Linked DNA regions of Homo sapiens: region 2 is linked to region 1. Evidence: promoter capture Hi-C in 16 types of primary human blood cells and fetal thymus (Javierre and others, 2016). All regions are on one chromosome and are shown on one strand. Each heading gives the region's core, a stretch centred on a gene start or on the middle of the fragment in contact. The rest is flanking DNA. Distances are from core to core; before and after follow the strand shown.

Region 1 (3,025 bases), core at 298-2,797:
ATGGCAGCATGGAGAGCAGGCTGCCCGCTTTTTGGTTGGACATTTCTTTCACTCTTGAGTTTGAGGTACAGCAAATTTCCCAAATCATTCAGATGTAAATATTCCAATACTCAGACCAGGGGCCCATTCAGGAGGCTGAGTGCAGGAAGATGGCCTGAGCTCAGGAGTTCGATACCAGCTTGGGCAACACAGCAAGACTGTCTTGAGAAAAAGAATTCTAAACAAAATAAATACAAGAATTCAAAACAAAATTCATGAAAGATATAGGAAGGGTGAGGGAAGAAGTCCAACATTTTATCACCCACCAGCTACCAAGTATCTAACAGCACAATGTCCTAGCTCTGCGGTGCTCTTGAAAGAAAAAGTGAAAACCCTGACAAGGGAGCCATCTGGATTTGTATTCCTCACCATTTACCATGACTAGAATGCTTAGGAGTGTGCCCTTCAGAAACTGAGCTTTTCAGGCAGAAAATTAGTTTTCTCTCCAGACCATATAGGAATGCCTAAAAAAGTTATGCCAAAATGTAAAAAGAAGAGTCAAGCCAAGGACCCCCATTTTTAAACTTAAGTGTTGGCTGCCCCTCAAACTGCAACTTACTCCTCCTGGGGTACTATGGTTTGCCTTTAGGCAGCATGTGAAGGTGTGAAGATCTCTTTTAGGAGATCTTGTCAGAGTACCTCAATGGCCAATCAGAAAACAGGTATTAAGGGTGAAGAAGCCACTTTTTGGAAAGTTAGATCATGCAGAGAAACTTAATTTACACTTTAATAGCCGTTTCTCACTATTGGGATCATTAAAAGTTAGACTGTTTCCTTAAATACTATTTAACTTCACTACACACTGTTGTGACCACGGGCTATTTAAGACATTCAGGGTACTAACCTATAGATCTGTTCTCACCTAATTTGCTCGAGCATCAAGACCCTGATAATAAAGACAGAAAAATGCTGAAACAGCAGAATTTTAAACCAAGTTCCCCTCTGCAGCACAAGAAACTCAGGTAAGTTTCCAGTGTCCAAAGCCTACACTCACAAACACAAACACGAAGCCCTCCCTTTGCAACCCTCAAGTACCCAGAACCTGCTGAAGAAAACCATCTTTCACCACCTTTTGTTAAGGTTCCTCAGTATTAGTGGAAAAGCTTTATTCTCACAAAGATATCCAACAATGCTAATTTTTACATGGCATGTTATTTCCTTAGGCAAGATTAATAGAAAACCTGAAAAATTCGCAACAAGCACACAAAGACTAGCTTCTGTAACACAACCTGACCCCACCCATATCACACCATTTTAGAAGGAAGTCCGTTTAAACCAGTGATTCTCAAACAGGCAATTTTGACTTCTTATCACCATGGGAGGGGAGGAGGCCGCGTCCTAGCAGAGGCCAAAAACAGTTGCTTCACATCCTACAACCCAGAGGGCACTCCTCAACAAAAGTGATCAGGCTAAAATGTCAACAGTGCTCCCCAGGTTGAGAAACTGAATTTTAAACTCAACCTCTAGTTTAGATGACCACTAGGTCTCACCGAATGAGGAGTTTACAGCTCAGAAACAAATCTAGAAAACTTAACAGCCTTGGCCAAGCACAATGGCTCATGCCTGTAATCCCGGCATGTTGAACTGGATGGTGAAACCCCATCTCTACCAAAAAATACAAAAATTAGGTGGGCATGCTGGTGTGTGCCTGTAGCCCCAGCTACTCAGGAGGCTGAGGTGGGGGTGATCACCTGAGCTCCCCAGGTCGAGGCTGCAGTGAGTTGTGATCGTGACACTGCACTCCCGCCTGGGTGACAGAGCCAGACCCTGTCTCAAAAAAAAAAAAAAAAAAGCCTCTTGGCCATTTCTACCTATGGCCAAAATAATGTGAACAGATAATGACCTTTTAGAGTATTCACAAATGGGGATCTTAAGACACCGAGTACAAGTTACTGAACTAGAACTAAGGCGTGGGAAGCTTGATACGTCATACTTCCTCAACTTAGAAAATAGTTGCAAGGGTAGCATAAAGCTTCAGTCCACAAAGTTTGTAAGTTTGGACTTGCTATGGTATTGGTCAAAGTTCAGGATTGTTCCTATACTAACCAACTGCACTCCATTCTAGCTAATGGAGAACAAAAATACCCCTAGAGGCAGCTTCCACACCAGTTAAACACGAAACCAGAGCAGCAGTACTTAGTCTACAAACACTCCTGAGTAGGTAAGAGGACAGATATCATTCACCAAAGTCCCTGTAACCAAGCAGTAAGTTAAGGCCAAGTTGTTACTGTCAAGGAAGGAGAACCCCCTAGTTAAAAATAGCACTAGGCTGCGAAGGTCGAGTTCAAATACCAGCCTGGCCAACATGGTGAAACCCGGTCTCCACAAAAATACAAAAATTAGCCGGGCATGGCGGTGAGCGACTGTAATCCCAGCTACTTGAGAGGCTGAGGCAGGAGAATCGCTTGAACCCAGAAAGCGGAAGTTGCAGTGAGCTGAGATCGAGCCATTGCGCTCCAGCCTGGACGACAGAGCGAGACTCCGTCTCAAAAAAAAAAAAAAAATCAAAAACCAGTAAATAGAGGACCAGTTAGGAACCAAATTAACCATGCATCTCTTCCCCTGAACTATTTTCTGAGGAAGAAGGCAAACCCCAACACCCTCGGCTAAAGAATGTAACAAAATGCCAGTGTCTGGCTACCAGACACGACTGACACAGTATTCCCTTTCAGTTTTGCTGAATTGGCCAAAATGAGTATTGGGCTAGAATTCAAAATCCTGAAGAATCAAGTATGTCCCCCTACCTTAGTGAGTCTTAATTAACTCCATCCTTAGGGAGAATTCCAAACCAAAGTAAATTATCAGGAGGGCATTTAAACAATTTAAGTAACACACATTTCAGGTAACACACAAAACATTTCAGTTGACTACCGAAATTGTATTATGGCAAAAAGTTGCCCAAGACTTAGTTTCCCATTATTTCATACTTGCCCCAAACTCCCTTTCAGTTAACCATAACACCATCTAGGCCAGACCACAGCAGGTT
Region 2 (3,253 bases), core at 146-2,645, 2.1 Mb after region 1:
TATTGACCAGTTTAACACTCATGTGTAAATACATTTCAGCATTCCTGCTTGCTTTATGTATTTTATCTCTCTTTATCTTATCTTTTTGAGACAGGGTCTTGGTGTGTCACCCAGGCTGGAGTGCAGTGGTGCAATCATGTCTCAGAGCAACCTCTACCTCCCGGGCTCAAATGATCCTCCCACCTCAGCCTCCCAAGTAGCTGGGATTACAGGTGTGAGCCACTGTGTCTGGTCTGAATAAAGGAATTTTTAACTTTTAATTTTAACTACTTTAAATTTAAAAACTGATGTTTGGTTCAGCGATTTGAAAACAGTATATTTGGAACCGCTTGGATATGAGAATCTGCTTTTTAACCATACATTGATGAAATCTAAATAGAGAACAAGCATTTCCGATGACAGCTGCTCTCTCAGATTGAAATGCACTGCAAATGTAAAATACACACCGGATTTCAAAGTCTTTGCAAAAAAGAATGTAACATATCACATTCCTTTTTTTATTGATTGATTACATGTTGAGTATTGATTGGTTACATGTTGAAATGATATTTCGGGTATAATAAAGTGGGGTCAGGGAAAAATATTTTTCCCAAATAGGAAAAATAAATGGGTAAAATAAAGCGTACTATCAAAATCAATTTTACATTTCGTTTTGCTTTTATTTATTTATTATTTATTTTTGAGACCAAGTCTAGCTCTGTCGCCCAGGCTGGAGTGCAGTGGCGAGATCTCGGCTCACTGCAACCTCCGCCTCCTGGGTTCAAGCGATTCTCCTGCCTCAGCCTCCAAGTAGCTGGGATTAGAGGCGCGTGCCACCACGCCCAGCTAATTTTTATTTCTTTCCTTTTTTTTTTTTTTTTAGTAGAGAGGGGGTTTCGCCATGTTGGCCAGGTTGGTCTCGAACTGCTGAACTCAAGTGATCTGCCCGCCTTGGCCTCCCAGTGTTGGGATTACAGGCGTGAGCCACCGCGCCCGGCCTTCTTTTTGTTTTTAAACGTGGTATTGACATTTTAAGATGACATCTGCAACTCGCAACACTGGGACAAGGGATTCTGGGTCATAAATTCTCCCATTCCTCATTTACTCTGCAGCACCGGGTGGCTGCGAACTCCGCTCTTCTGCTTGGGTTTCCGCATCACCAGCAGCTTCTTTCCTTCCCAGGTGTCGCCGCCTGCTTTCTGCAGCCGCTGCCTGGGAGGGGTTCCGAGGTTCTGGGCAGCCACAGCCCCGGAGGCCTTACAGGAGCGACCTGGCAATTCCCGCCGCCGGCCGCCAGAGGAAGCTGCTTTGCTGCTGTCGTTGCCCAGCAACTCGTAGCCCGGAAGCAGTACCCCGTCTCGCTCGGTTCCGCGGCGGCCACGCTCCGGGAGACTTCCGGCAGGGCGGGCGCGGGGTCTTGGCGAACGGTCTTCGGAAGCGGCGGCGGCGCGATGACCACGCTACGGGCCTTTACCTGCGACGACCTGTTCCGCTTCAACAACATGTGAGTGACACGCGCCTAGGGCCAGCCGCTCTTGGCCGGGCCTCGCTTCCCGGCCCCGCCAGCTCCGGCCCCAGCCGCGCCTTCCCGGCCGGACCCCAAGCCCGGACGGGGACCCGCGAGAACCACCCCCCGCCGGCCAACGTGGGCGCCTCCCTGGGGCCACAGGGTCCAGGGAGAGGTGGGCCTGGAGTCGACGCACGCCGGCCTTGGCGACCTTGGCCGAGGTGCTCAAACTTTGTCTCTGGACCCTGCGAGCTGGCAGGTTCTGGGGCAGCGCTCGGGCCTCCGCTCGTGGTCGCTGTCAGGAGGCGCTGGGGTGATGGGGCGAGCTGGAGACGCGGCCTGGAGCCCACGACCTGGGCTTCTCGCCCTGCCCTACTGCTTGCTGGTTCGTGGCCGGGCCGCGCCTCTTCTGGGCAGAGGGCACCGCCGACGGCCAGGCCGCAGAGGGGGCTTGCGAGGATCGGAAGCTGGTCAGCAGCTGTTGGGATGTGTACATCGTGAAGCCCACCTGGTGGCCGTGGTTAAATTGTATCCAAATGAAATGACACTGATCACTGCGTCCCCTGCAGCAGATGCTGTCTCAGTCATGGTTAGTGTTTGCAAGTTTAGTTACTGTAGCTGCGCACCCCGGTGTACACACCTTTCCTCTGTGAGGAGTCACGGCAGATCTTAGGGGAGGCTCGCTGTGCCCAGAGCCCTGGATGCAGTTTCTTTGGATTCGAGTTAAGGCCAGACCTCTGATTTGCAGGTACCAATTTTTTTTTTTTAAGAAAACATTTTATTATGAAGATTCCCACACATTTAGAAAAGTTGGAGGAATTTCACCATGTGCTTTTATAGACACTTTTCCTGGATTCTGCAGTTAACATTTTGCTACGCTGGTATCTCTCCTTCCTTCCCATCTATCAGTCCTGGATCCACTTTAAAAAAACAACAGGGCGGTATGTGAAAACTAAGGACAAAGTGGTTCCGATTCAAGTGTCAGGAAGATGGAAAGAACTATGGGATAAGATGGCTGGGAACATTTCAAAGAGGGGGTGAGCCTTGAAGATGGATAACACATTGGTAAGTGAGGAAGACGGAAGTTCCGGAGAAGGAGCGGGGCATGAAAATGGGGAAACTTGAAGTGCGGTCAGACAACTGGGATCAGTGCGAATCTAGTGGCTGGTTTCTGCCACTGAGCAGTCAGGAAGAAATGGGTGAAACAGGAGGGGTTTAGACTTGATCCTGTGGAAAGAATTTTCTGTTGGGCCAGTCTGGTAGCTACGGTGACTTGTGTTGAACTCACTGTTCCCTGCATTGTTCTGAGTGCCCACGTAATAATCCAGTTAATCCTCACGATTCTTTGAGGTGCTGTCACCCCCATTTTGTGTATGAGTAAACCAAGGCATGGCAAGCACAAGTGAATTGGCCCAGGTGAGAATGAGTAAAGCGAGGAACTTCATCCAAGGATATTGGCTCTGGAGCAGTGGTTCTGAAAGACTTGGTGCCTGTGGTCAGGGGACCATGTTAGAAACGCACATTCCGTTTGCGATCCACTGCTCTGGAGTGGGTCTTAACCCACCTGGAGCCTCTGGAGAGGCTCACCCTCTCTTTAAAGTGTTCCCAGCCATCTCATCCCATAGTCCTTTCTATCCTCCTGACCCTTGAATCGGAACCACTTGGTTTTTCGTTTTCACTTACTGCCCTGTTGTTTTTAAAAGTGGATCTAGGATTGATAGGTGGGCAGAGAGAAATGATGAAGCCAGTGTAGCAAAGTGTTCACTG

The links. The method cuts DNA at HindIII sites, captures the fragments that hold promoters and counts their contacts. A CHiCAGO score of 5 or more calls a contact.
Region 2: a contact is called between the fragment with the promoter of NAA20 here and a fragment that was not itself captured in region 1, in 1 of 17 cell types (non-activated CD4 T cells). The highest score is 5.4, in non-activated CD4 T cells.

What each region holds. Positions count from the first base shown.
Region 1 is chr20:17,963,858-17,966,882 of GRCh38, forward strand. All of the region lies in intron 1 of SNX5 (sorting nexin 5), which reads right to left. Among named protein-coding and RNA genes, the nearest start is that of SNORD17, 2.4 kb to the left of the region's middle. RefSeq lists an enhancer at 2,353-2,432. The HindIII fragment of the contact is 815 bases long and covers 1,141-1,955 here.
Region 2 is chr20:20,015,967-20,019,219 of GRCh38, forward strand. It overlaps NAA20 (N-alpha-acetyltransferase 20, NatB catalytic subunit), which reads left to right and starts at 1,396. Exons shown (of 6, transcript NM_016100.5): 1 at 1,396-1,483. The coding sequence starts at 1,431. RefSeq lists enhancers at 903-1,082, 1,697-2,197, 2,659-3,253 and silencers at 1,403-1,472, 1,523-1,642. The HindIII fragment of the contact is 8,583 bases long and covers 1-3,253 here.